Linked DNA regions of Homo sapiens: all the other regions are linked to region 1. The links are contacts of gene promoters, found by promoter capture Hi-C in blood cells and fetal thymus (Javierre and others, 2016). All regions are on one chromosome and are shown on one strand. Each heading gives the region's core, a stretch centred on a gene start or on the middle of the fragment in contact. The rest is flanking DNA. Distances are from core to core; before and after follow the strand shown.

Evidence for each region. The method cuts DNA at HindIII sites, captures the fragments that hold promoters and counts their contacts. A CHiCAGO score of 5 or more calls a contact.
Region 2: a contact is called between the fragment with the promoter of OR5T2 here and the fragment with the promoter of OR4C16 in region 1, in 5 of 17 cell types (monocytes, naive CD8 T cells, neutrophils and 2 more). The highest score is 5.9, in monocytes.
Region 3: a fragment that was not itself captured here is called in contact with the fragment with the promoter of OR4C16 in region 1 in 1 of 17 cell types (M0 macrophages); the score reaches 5.2 in M0 macrophages.

What each region holds. Positions count from the first base shown.
Region 1 is chr11:55,569,191-55,573,684 of GRCh38, forward strand. OR4C16 (olfactory receptor family 4 subfamily C member 16) reads left to right here and starts at 2,938. Exons shown (of 1, transcript NM_001004701.2): 1 at 2,938-3,870. The coding sequence starts at 2,938. The coding sequence ends at 3,870. The HindIII fragment of the contact is 18,539 bases long and covers 1-3,829 here.
Region 2 is chr11:56,232,452-56,236,743 of GRCh38, forward strand. OR5T2 (olfactory receptor family 5 subfamily T member 2) reads right to left here and starts at 1,804. Exons shown (of 2, transcript NM_001004746.4): 1 at 1,726-1,804; 2 at 1-813. The coding sequence starts at 611. The HindIII fragment of the contact is 5,726 bases long and covers 1-4,292 here.
Region 3 is chr11:54,877,156-54,881,265 of GRCh38, forward strand. No RefSeq gene overlaps it. Among named protein-coding and RNA genes, the nearest start is that of OR4A5, 170 kb to the left of the region's middle. The HindIII fragment of the contact is 684 bases long and covers 1,630-2,313 here.

The DNA of each region.
Region 1 (4,494 bases), core at 1,688-4,187:
CCTATATTGTATTAGACATTGGGTTTTGTACAGTGGAGAATAATATGCAGAGAACACATAGCTTTCCTGTATTCTTATTCTAGGATAGAAGCTAAGCATACACAAATAATTGAGTTTAAGCAATTATATATAGCAGTATAAGAAAAGAATAAGGGAGTCTTTTAAAAAGCAGCAGAGAGAATTTCCTTTATCACAAGGCAATTTTTGAAGGCTGCTTAGATGAAGTTTCTTCACAGTTGTGTTTTGAAATTTTGTAACAGTTGAAGTAGATAGAAGTGGAAAGGAATTCCAGGGAAGAAGACAGATACCGATTATTGATTAAACTGTTAACTAAATATTTGATGAGGACCTATAATTATTACCAAATTAATTACATTACATATCTGTAATCCTTAATTTACCTAAAAAACTTTATGTCCCAATATATAAAGTAAATAATACAGACTACCTAGAAATGAATAGTCTACTAGGATTACTGATATACAGACCACAGACCAAAGGTTATACCCTCAAAGGAGTGCTCAAAGTCATAAAGTATTAGAGGTGAAAACTACTTCTACATTATCAGGCCTCCAAAGCCTACCACATTTTCAAGTACAAATACTTTGTAATGGATCACCCTTTTAAATGAATAAAGGAAAAAATGAGCTTATTGTAATAATTAAAATACCAACTCAGTTCCCTTATAGTTTAAGATACATTTCAAAGATTACAGAGTCCAAATATATATATACATATATATAAAATATATATTACTGAGTCCAAAGAGTCAAAAGATATATATATAAAGTATATATATGTATATAAAGTGTATATATATAAAATATATATGTATATAAGATATACATATATACTTTTTTATTCTTAGCACACCAAAGTGAACAACTTCATCAGACACTTTCCTGGGAGTATTTTTTTTTTTATTTGGAGGAAGATAAGGGATATTTCAAATCTGGTGAGGAGAAGAAGGAGAGGAATCTGGAGAGAGGAAGAAGTATATATAAAGGGAATTTTGTGTCTGTTTTGTCTATTTTATTCTGTTTTGGCCAACTTGTAACTTTCACCAATGTTTTGAAGGTATTGATTGAATTGTGGATGTAAAAACTAAAAGTAGAAGTTCCTCTTCAAAGACTTTACTCCCCATCTAATTAGGAATAAATAGTAACTTCTCTTCGAAGCAAATTTTGTTTAAAGACCTGCACTCCTAAATATTTGCCCTGGCATGCTTATACTGATCCAAGCAAGCATTAGGTCATAGCCTGTTCCTCTTTCTTATTTAAAAGTGTTTTTACCTTTGTCAGCATTCCACAAGTTACTTCCTGCTTCCTTTTTCTCCTCTGCCTTTGCCTCTTTTAAAAACTTCTGAGTTGCTAGCCAATATGGACAAATACAGAATGAGGTCCTGTTCCAGCCAATGGAAAACGGACACAGCAGTTGTCAGGTTATAAATGACCCTGTCTCCTTTGTTCGGTGTACTCTCGTGGCAAAACTGCTGGCGAGTGTACCCTTTCTGGAGGAAGTAAAAAATGACCTTTCTAAATAAATTCAATTTGTGTTCAAGAGCTATTTCTTTTATAACACCAGGGAACAAGCATTTCAAACAGTGGAGAAACACAATGGGCTTCCAGACTATATTTAAATAAATTACACTTTGGTTTATATTTCTACTTGCATATTATGTACTGTCTAGTGTCATCTTGACAACAAAAATGTAGAGAATTTATTTTTCTTGAAAGAGAAGCCTTGTGATAATATTAGTTTCCATATATTCTTAAAAACTGATCTTCACTGGGAAAAGTGACATTTCAAAGTTGAAGCACTGACTTTTCCATGATAGAAAATAAATTGAATGAAGAAGGTATTTAGTATCTACTCTCTCTTCTCTAAAACCACATCACCTTCTTTCCTCCAAATCTCTGCTCTGTTCCAGGAATGTGCAGTTTTTGAATATCAGGATAATGAAAACTCTTCTGGGGATTACAAACATGATCTGGTTCAATGATAACACTTCAAACCACCCCACTTATAAAATGCTTTCTTGTTTTCATGATTCTAATATTTAGTTTGAATTGTGAAAACAAACAGTTGAGTAGTAATACTGTACCCCACCCTCATCTTATTTAAATGTAACCTCAGAAACTCTGTGTGTTCTAGGGATGCTTTCAATAAATTAAAGGAAGAAAATTAGAAAGGGGGATATTAAAGAGATAACTAATTTTCAAAGAACATTCATTCCTGTTTATTAGTATATGTCAGGACAAAATGTTATAAGGACACATCAAGGTAGCAACAGATTATTTAGAGGCTATAAGTGTTTTCGTTTACTTTTTATAATCTGGAATATCTGGGAGAAATTTTGCAGAGAAGTGGAGCATACAAGGTATTAATAAATAACATCTATATAAATATATATAATGAATATGGAATGTATAAACTATGTATTAATAAGATATTATCTACAGGGTGGTGGTGGCATAGGACTTCATATTGTAAAACTCAAAGAGCAGCTAAATATATCTTAAATGTTGAGTGATACACAACATAAAAAATGGCCCTCAGTATTTATTGAAAATTATAAAATGAAATTTAATATTAAAATGGATCATTACCTCTTACATTTACCTTCCTTGAATTGGAAAAATTAATCAGAATGATGCCAAAGCTAACCAAGGCTTGTACTTGAAGAATGCTATAGCAAGGTATCATGTTCATAAGCATATTTGAGAATCATAATAACCCTATGAAGTGGTCATTAAAATTTGGAAGAAAGTGTTGAAGTGGCTTATTAAGAAACCGCCACCAGAATGTATCCAATAAGAAATATTTAATTTTGCATAAAATATTCCATAACATCACATAGCACAGCATAAATTAATTCCTTTTTTTTTTGCAGGTAGACCATTTCACACTTGCCCCTTCACCTCACTCACGAAAACCATGCAACTGAATAATAATGTGACTGAGTTCATTCTGCTTGGATTGACACAGGATCCTTTTTGGAAGAAAATAGTGTTTGTTATTTTTTTGCGTCTCTACTTGGGAACACTGTTGGGTAATTTGCTAATCATTATTAGTGTCAAGACCAGCCAGGCACTTAAGAACCCAATGTTCTTCTTCCTTTTCTACTTATCCTTATCTGATACTTGCCTCTCTACTTCCATAACCCCTAGAATGATTGTGGATGCCCTTTTGAAGAAGACAACTATCTCCTTCAGCGAGTGCATGATCCAAGTCTTTTCATCCCATGTCTTTGGCTGCCTGGAGATCTTCATCCTCATCCTCACGGCTGTTGACCGCTATGTGGACATCTGTAAGCCCCTGCACTACATGACCATCATAAGCCAGTGGGTCTGTGGTGTTTTGATGGCTGTGGCCTGGGTGGGATCCTGTGTGCATTCTTTAGTTCAGATTTTTCTTGCCCTGAGTTTGCCATTCTGTGGCCCCAATGTGATCAATCACTGTTTCTGTGACTTGCAGCCCTTGTTGAAACAAGCCTGTTCAGAAACCTATGTGGTTAACCTACTCCTGGTTTCCAATAGTGGGGCCATTTGTGCAGTGAGTTATGTCATGCTAATATTCTCCTATGTCATCTTCTTGCATTCTCTGAGAAACCACAGTGCTGAAGTGATAAAGAAAGCACTTTCCACATGTGTCTCCCACATCATTGTGGTCATCTTGTTCTTTGGACCTTGCATATTTATGTACACATGCCTTGCAACCGTATTCCCCATGGATAAGATGATAGCTGTATTTTATACAGTTGGAACATCTTTTCTCAACCCTGTGATTTACACGCTGAAGAATACAGAAGTGAAAAGTGCCATGAGGAAGCTTTGGAGCAAGAAATTGATCACAGATGACAAAAGATAAATGAAGGTTTCAAATCCTTCTTTATAGTTTGGAGTGACCTAGAAGAAATCAATGAGAATATTATATTTTTATTGTTGATTTAATGTAATCCTGCCTTGGTACATGAGGATTAGTTCCTTTGGGAAAAGAGACAGTGTAAACAAATAACAATGGTTAATGTTGAGTCAGTTTTATGTGGCAGAAAAGACAGCATGCAATACAAACTAGTATGTAAAGCTCATTGCCTTCAGTGCTATTCACTCCTGTGTCTCTGGTCCTCCTGCCTGCTTAGTGTCACTTATGGTTTAGGTCTGTAGTTTGCCTGTTCTTCTCCATGTTGACTTCTGGAATTCCCTGCTAATATTTACCCATCTAAATATAAACAGTCCAATAGGATTTTTCCCCTTCTTAATGGTTTTCTTTATTAGACACATTGGATTCTTCATACCTCATGATCAACTTAGTTGTTCTTCCTGACTCAACAGGAAGTACCATATTTCAGTAATTGTAGGAGCTTCATGTTGCAAGAGACAATATATATGACCTAGGAAATCTCCCTTCCAATTTTTTGAGCTGTATGCTGAAATCTTTCTATAAGTTTACCTAGATACTTCTAAAACCATGACAGAACAAAGAAAGAAAATT
Region 2 (4,292 bases), core at 554-3,053, 660 kb after region 1:
ATAGAGCCCACAAAGTAGAAGAGTAGAAGCTGGTTTGTGTGAGTGTCAGAATAAGAAATAGCAAGGAGAGGAGGGATATCACAAAAGACACGCCTAATTTCATTGGCTCCACAGAAGGATAGGCTAAATGTAGCCACTGTATGTATAGTAGCATGTAAAATGCCAGCAACATAGGAAGCATTGATGAGTGGCATGTAGACTCTGGGTGACATGCTCACTGAATACAGGAGAGGGTTGTAGATGGCTACATAGCGATCATAAGCCATTGCAGCCAAGAGAAAGCATTCTGTGGTTCCAAAACTACAAGCAAGAAACACCTGTGCTACACATCCAAGGAATGAAATGACTTTATTCTTTGTCGTAAAATCTACTAACATATTTGGGGTAATAACTGAGGAATAGCAGGCATCCACAGAAGACAACATACTCAGAAAATAGTACATGGGTTTGTGGAGCTGGGAATCCCTAATGACCACTAAAATCAGTCCTAAATTTCCCATGAGAGTGAAGAGGTAGATTGCTAGAAACAGGAAGAAGAAGATAGTCTGCAGTTCAAGATTGTCTGTGAAGCCCTTCAGTACAAATAAGGTAACTTCAGTGACATTCTTCATGTTGAAATCTAGAACAAACTTGAAGATATGCATAAAGTTACAGTTCATATTATGACAAAAAGAATGAACAACACCATGACTCAAGGGGATGTTAACTGTGCTCTTGTATATACTGTACGACATATATTCAGCAGTGCATAATTCTCTAGTAGTGAATCAGAAGACAGTGACAAACTGGTCAGCCATGTGTTCATGCCACTCACTGCAGAATCAAATGGAAGAAATGGACGTTCATTAGTTGGCTGGACTTATTCTGTTTCTAAAATCATCAGGTCTACTGGTTAATTTACCACTGAATTGTATTAAGCTGTTTATATATTAAATAATATTAAAACACACAAAAATGAGTGGCTTAAACAATCTTTGGGCATCCAAATACACAAGAGACTGTATCAGGGGACAGAGCATTGGAATACAATACCAGAATTTTAGAACTTGTAGCAATTGTGCAAAATGATTTGCTATATCTACTTGTCTATAGAATGAGAACATTAATAGTTTGTTCACAAGATTGGAGTAAATATTGAAGGAAAATTGCATTAATAAAATATAATATGTAAAATAATTTTGATTATAGAATATGCTGAATTAAGTTGGTTCTACATTCTATCAAGATTAAATCCAATGAACAGTTATGATTTTTTTCATCTGCTCATTCAAATGTCTCTGAATTATTCTTTGGAGAATGAAGAAGTTTTGTGAATTACTTGATCATTTTATGCCAAAAATAAACATGCAAATTACCATGATTCCATTTTCTACATTACAATTGTCTTAATTTTGCTTTGTGCAAATAAGATACTTCAACCAAATTTCTTGTGAGACAGGCATTTCTACTAGATGCCAAAATAAGTTATATTGGGTAAAAATTAAGTTAATATTAGCACATAGTCAAAGATTCAGAGTTATAAAGAGAAAATCACTATGATTCTTGAAGATTTAATAATATAGAATCAACTTTTTAAATTAATGCAAATCTATTTTTATGAAACAAATTTTAATGGAAGGGAGAAAACTTTAAATATCGTGAATGTAATAACGAAACACTAAGTTTGCTAAATAACAGGCATTTATTTAGCACTTGCTGCAAGAACAGACATTTCTTGTACATTACCTTATTTCACCTTTATAGCAACTTTCATAGCTAACAATTTCCAGAGCCAAGATTCAATCCCAGGTTTCTCTCATTGTACATGAAATTTTTGCATTTTTTCATGGCCTCATAAATGGCTTCATTCTGCAACTGGAACACTCTTCCTCTTACCCCTCTGCTGACCTCAGGGAAATAAAGGTAAAGCAAAACATGATTCTCGATGTATTTGTATTTTTTAAGCCATTAAATCTAGAGAAACATAAAATAAGTAGCAATCTGAAGTGACTTCTAGATTATAAAGCCAGAAAATAAATTTAAAATAAGTATTGATTGTTTTCCTTATTACTTCAAAATACAAGACCCCAGATAAATGAATAAGTCAAATGTTTTTTTGCCCTTTGTTGATATTTATTGGTAAATTCATGACCTTTGAACTATCTTTATCTATAAGAAAAATACAAGCATATACTCTATTAGGAGCACTCTTATTTATCTCTATAAGTACAAATACAATATTTTCTATTTTTTATTGTTTTCTAGTAAGTGTTGGATTTTAATTCTTAGGCATAACTCTAAATAAATCATATTTTGATGAATACACTTGATTCACATATGTAATAGTCCAGAACTGAAGTGTTTAGTTCTTGGTGTTTAGCAGCTAAAAAGTTTAGTAAAAAAAAACATAGTTATTCTTGATATTGTAGGTTCTAGCTGCCGAAATATTCTTCAAATTATCTGAAATTTTCTCTTACCTGTGGAACAGCAAATGCAGATTTAGGTATTCTATGAATATGGCTAACTTAGATTGTTTATATCTTTGTAATTGACTGTTGATGAAATCCAAGGAGATGTCCCAAGGGGAATATGCCCCAATTATCTTCTGTTTCAAAATAGCACCATGATGATTTACTTAATAATAAAAAGTAAATGATTCCGGAATAAGGCACTGCATGCTCCTACTTATTGAATCAATAGAGTTCTTTGGCTTCTGTTTAAAATGTGTCAGATTTGAATTTCCCTGATGACTACTGATGTTGAACATCTTTTCATACATCTGAAGGCCATTTGTATGTCTTCTTTGGAAAAAAAATGTATTCAAGTCCTTTGCCAGTTTTAAAATAAGATTATTGTTATTGTGGCTATTGAATTTATATATTTTGATATTAATCCCCTATTAGATATATCATTTACAAATATTTTTTGTTTGGCTGATGGTTTTCTTCATTGTGCAGAAGATTTTGACTTTGACGTAGCCCTACTTGTCTAATTTTGGTTTTGTTACTTGGCTTTTTATGTCATTGCTTGTATTTTTATGTTACATCCAACAAGTTACTGCCAAGCTGAAGGTCCTAAAGTTTTTCCTTATGTTTTCTTCTAGAAATTGTAGTTTCAGGTTTTATGTTTAAATTTTTAATCCATTTTGGGTTGGTTATTTTATATGGTATAAGACAAGGGTCCAATTTAATTTCCCATTGTGTATTCTTGGCACACTTGTGAAAGATCATTTGACTATATACATGTGGGATTGTTTCCAGGCTCCCTATTCTGTTCCGTTGGTCTATATATCTGTCCTTATTCCAGTCCCATGCTATTTAATTACTGTAGTTTTGTAATATCATTGAAATAAAAAAGTATAATACCTCTAGCTTTGTTTTTCTTTCTCAAGATTCCTTTGGCTATTTGAAGTCTTTTGTAATTGCACATAATTTTTACGATGTTTTTTCTATTTCTGTAAAACCCAGCACTAGGATTTTGCAGGAAATGCATTAAATCTGAAGACCCCTTTGGGTAATATGGAGATTTTAATTATTGCAGATCAAAACCACAATGAGATATCATCACACACCTGTTATGGCCATTATTTAAAAAAAAAAAGTATTGATAAGAATGTGGAGAAATTGGAACCCTGGTGTACTGTTGACAAGAATATAAAACAGTGCAGCCATGATTGAAAATAGTATGGAAGTTCCTTGAAACATTAAAAACAGGATTACTATACAATCCTGAAATTCTGAAACCACCTTCGCAAAATTATGACAGTAAGAGAAATCTGCCATGACTGACTTCTTCTTGCTTCTATCATCACAGGCTGTCTGTCTTTGCTCATCTCTGGGCATGGACCAAATAACTTCGGGAGAAATTTAGTTTATAGTTTAAATGATAATAGTCCTTTGCAAAAACTAAACCACCTTTGTAAAACTAATCAAAGGCACCAAGTTAAGAGGATGAGAGGAGTCTGTGTTCTGCTAAGATATAGGCCTAGTAAAATGATTACCAGCCATTTTTTCCTGGAAGTCACAAGATTTGCAGCTTCCCCAATTATTCCTGCAGATAACATAGCTATTGTAGAACCTAAGATTGGCATTTTGAGATTCTTTTCAAATATTTGTATATCTGATAGCTGGATGGCCCCACCTGGACCTCTGACTCAAACAGTCATGTGGCCCCCACCCAGAAACACACTCAACACATGAGGATCATTTTCCACATCCCTATGATTCATCCTAAACTGATCAGCAACACCCATACCCTAGCCCTCTGCCCATCAAACTATCTTTGAAAAGCACCTAACTTTCAAGCCTTCAAGG
Region 3 (4,110 bases), core at 722-3,221, 690 kb before region 1:
TACTCTTTCCAGACTGCTGAATTTAAAGAAAATTTTATCTCTGTGAGATCAATGCACACATCACAAAGCAGTTTCTCAAATAACTCCCTTCTAGAATTTATCATGGGATATTCACTTTTTCCCCATTGATCTGAAATAATTCCCAAATGTCCATTCACAGAACGGACAAAAAAAGTGTTTGCAAACTACTGAATCACAGAAAATTTGAACCCTGTGAGATAAATGGACACAACACAATGCAGTTTCTCAGAAAGTGTCTTTCAGTTTTTTATCCGAAGATTTTTTTTTCACCATAGGCCTCAAAACACTCCCAGATATTCCTTTTCAGATTCTTCAAAAAAAAGTGTTTCAAAAGTCCTGAATGAAAAGAAAGGTTTAACTCTGAGAGATGAATGCACATATCACAAAGCGGCTTCTCAAATAGCTTCCCTCTAGTTTTTATCCTGGGATATTTGCGTTTTTGCCATTGGCTTCAATGAACTTCAAAATATCCATTTTTAGAATGGACAAAAACAGTTTTTGCAAACTGCTTAATCCATAGAAAAGTTGAACTCTGTGAGATGAATGCACAGATCACAAAGCAGTTTCTCAGAAAGATTCTTTGTAGTTTTTATCTGAAGATATCTCCTTTTTTCACTGTAGGCCTCTATGTACTCCAATATATACCTTTGCAGATTGAAGAAAAGCAACGTTACCAAACTGGTGAATGAAAAGAATGTTTCAATTCTGATAGAAGAATGTTCACATCACCAAGCGATTTCTCAAATATCTTCCTTCTAGTTTTTACTCTGGGATAGTCCATTTCTCTCCTTTGGCCCCATTAAGCTTCCAAATTTTCCTTTGCAGATTTTAAAACACCGGTGTTTTCAAACTGCTGAATGGAAAGAAAGGTTTAACTCTGTGAGATGAAGGCACACATCACAAAGTAGTTTCTCAGAAACATTCTTTCTAGTTTTTATCTGAAGATATTTCCTTTTTCATCATTGGCCTCAATGCACTCCCAGATATCCCTTCGCAGATTCTACTAAAACAGTGTTTCCAAACTGCTGAATGAAAAGAAAGGTTTAACTCTGCTAGATGAATGCACACATCACAAAGCAGTTTCTCAGATTGATTTCTTCTAGTTTTTTTCCTGGGATATTTGATTTTTCACCATTGGCCTCAATTAGCTCCCAAATATCCCTTTGCAGATTCTACAACAACAATGTTTTCAAACTGCTGAATACAAAGAAAGGTTTAACTCTGTGAGATTAATGCACACATCACAATGCAGTTTCTCAGAGAGCTTCTTTCTATTTGTTATCTGAAGATATTTCCTTTTCACCATAGGCCTCATTGCGCACCTAAATATTCCTTCACAGATTCTGTCAAAACAGTGTTTCTGGACTGCCGAATGAAAAGAAAGTTTTATCTGTGTGAGATGAATGCACACATCACAAAGCAGTTTCTTAAGTAGCTTCCCTCTAGATTTTATTCTGGGATATTCGCTTTTTTTGCCTTTGATCTGAAATAACTCTCAAATGTCCATTCACAGAACAGACAAAAGCAGTGAATGCAACCTACTGAACCCACAGAAAGTTTGAACTCTGTGAGATGAATACACATCAAAATTCAATTTCTCAGAAAGCTTCTTTCTATTTTTTATCTGAAAATATTTCCTTTTTAACTGTAGGCCTCCATGTGCTCCCAGATATCCCTCTGCAGAATCTACAAAAACACTGTTTCCAAAGTCCTGAAAGAAAATAAAATTTTAACTCTATGAGACGAATGCACAAATCACAAAGCAGTTTCTCAAATAGCTTCCCTCTAGTTTCATCCTGGGATATATGCTTTTTGCCATTGGCCTCGATGAGCTTAAAATGTTCAATTTCTGAGTGCACAGAAACATTGTTTGCAAACTGCTTAATCCACTGAAATGTTGAACTCCTTTAGATGAATGCACACATCACAAAGCAGTTTATCAGAAAGATTCTTTGTAGGTTTTATCTGAAGATATATCCTTTTTCACCATAGTCCAATGTGCTCTCCAAAATATACCTTCAAAGATTCTACAAAAACAATGTTCCCAAACTGTTGAAGTAAAGGATGCTTTAACTCTCAGAGATGAATTCACATATCACAAAGCAGTTTCTAAGATAGCTTCCTTCTACTTTTTATCCTGGGATATTTGCTTTTTCGCCATTGGCCTCAATGAGCTCCCTAATGTACATTTGCAGAATGGACAAAAACAGTGTCGCCAAAGTGCAGAATCCAAAGAAAGGTTTAACTCTGTGAGATAAATGCACACATCCCAAAGCAATTTCTAATTAAGCTTCTTTCTAGTTTTTATCTGAAGATATTTCCTTTTTCACCATAGGCCTCAATGGGCTACCAAATATCTCTTCGCAGATGCTAGGCAAACAGTGTTTCCAAACTGCAGAATGAAAAGAAAGTTTTAACTCTGTGAGAAGAATGCACACATCACTAATCGTATTCTCAGATAACTTACTTCTACTTTTTATCTTAGGATATTCGCTTTTTTGCCATTGGCCTCAATGAGCTCCCAAATGTCCATTCCCAGAATAGACAAAAACAGTGTTCCCAAACTGCTGTATCAAAAGAAAGGTTTAACTCTGTGAGATGAATGAACACATCACAAAGTAGTTTCTCAGAAAGCTTCTTGCTAGGTTTTATCTGAAGATATTTCCTTTTTCACCATAGGCCTCATTGCACTGACAAATATCATTTTGCAGTTTCTACAAAAAGAGTATTTCCAAACTGCTGAATGAAAAGAAAAGTTTAACTCTGCGAGATGAATGCACACATCACAAATCAGTTTCTCAGACAGCTTCCTTCTAGTTTTTATCCTGGGATATTAGCTTTTTCATCTTTGGCCTCAATGAGCTCCCAATTGTCCATTTGCAGAATGCACAAAAACAGTGTTCTAAAACTGCTGAATTCGAAGAAAGGTTTAACTCTGTGAGATGAAAGAACACATCAGAAATCAGTTTCTTATAAAGCTTCTTTTTAGTTTTTAACTGAAGATATTGCCGATTCACCATAGCCCTCAATGCGCTACCAAATATGTTTTCACAGATGCTAAGAAAACAGTTTCCAAACTGCTGAATAAAAATAAAATTTTAACTCTGTGTTGTGAATGCACACATCCCAAACCAGTTTCTCATTAAGCTTCTTTCCAGTTTTTATCTGAAGATATTTCCTTTTCACCATAGCCCTCAGTCTCTATGAAATATCTCTTTGCAGATTCTAAGAAATCAGTGTTTCCAAACTGCTGAAACCAAAGGAAGGTTTAACCATGTGAGATGAATGAACATGTCACAAAGCAGATTCTCAGAAAGCTTCTTTCTAGATATTATCTAAACATATTTCCATTTTCACTGTAGGCCTCCATGCACTGCCAAATATCCTTTCAAAGTTTATGCATAAACAGTGTTTCCACACTGCTGAACAAAAAGAAAGGTTTAACTCTGCTAGATGAAGGTACACATCACAAAGTGCTTTCTCGGATAGCTTCCTCCTAGTTTTTATCTTGGGATACTCGTTTTTTCACCATTGGCCTTTAAGCTCCCAAATGTCCTTTCTCCAAATTGACAAAAACAGTGTTACCAAACTGCTGAATCCAAAGAAAGGTTTAACTCTCTGAGATGAATGCACACATCCAAAACCAGTTTCTCATTAAGCTTCTTTCTAGTTTTATCTGAAGATATTTCCTTTTTCACCATAGGCCTCAATGCACTGCCAAATATCCTTTAATAGTTACTACAAAAACATTGTTTCCCAACTGCTGAATGAAAAGAAGGGTTTAACTATGCCAGATGAATGCACACATCAAAAAGTGGTTTCTTAGAGAGCTTCCTTCAGTTTTTATCCTGGGATATTCCCCTTTTTGCCATTGGCCTCATTGAGCTCCCAAATGTCCATTCACAGAATTGTCAAAAGCTGTGTTATCAAACTGCTGACTCCAAAGAAATGTTTAACTCTGTGAGATGAATGCACACATCCCAAACCTGTTTCTAATGAAGATTCTTTCTAGTTTTTATCTGAAGATATTTCCTTTTCCAGCATAGGCCTCCATACTCTTCCAAATATCTTGTCACAGATTATAAGAAA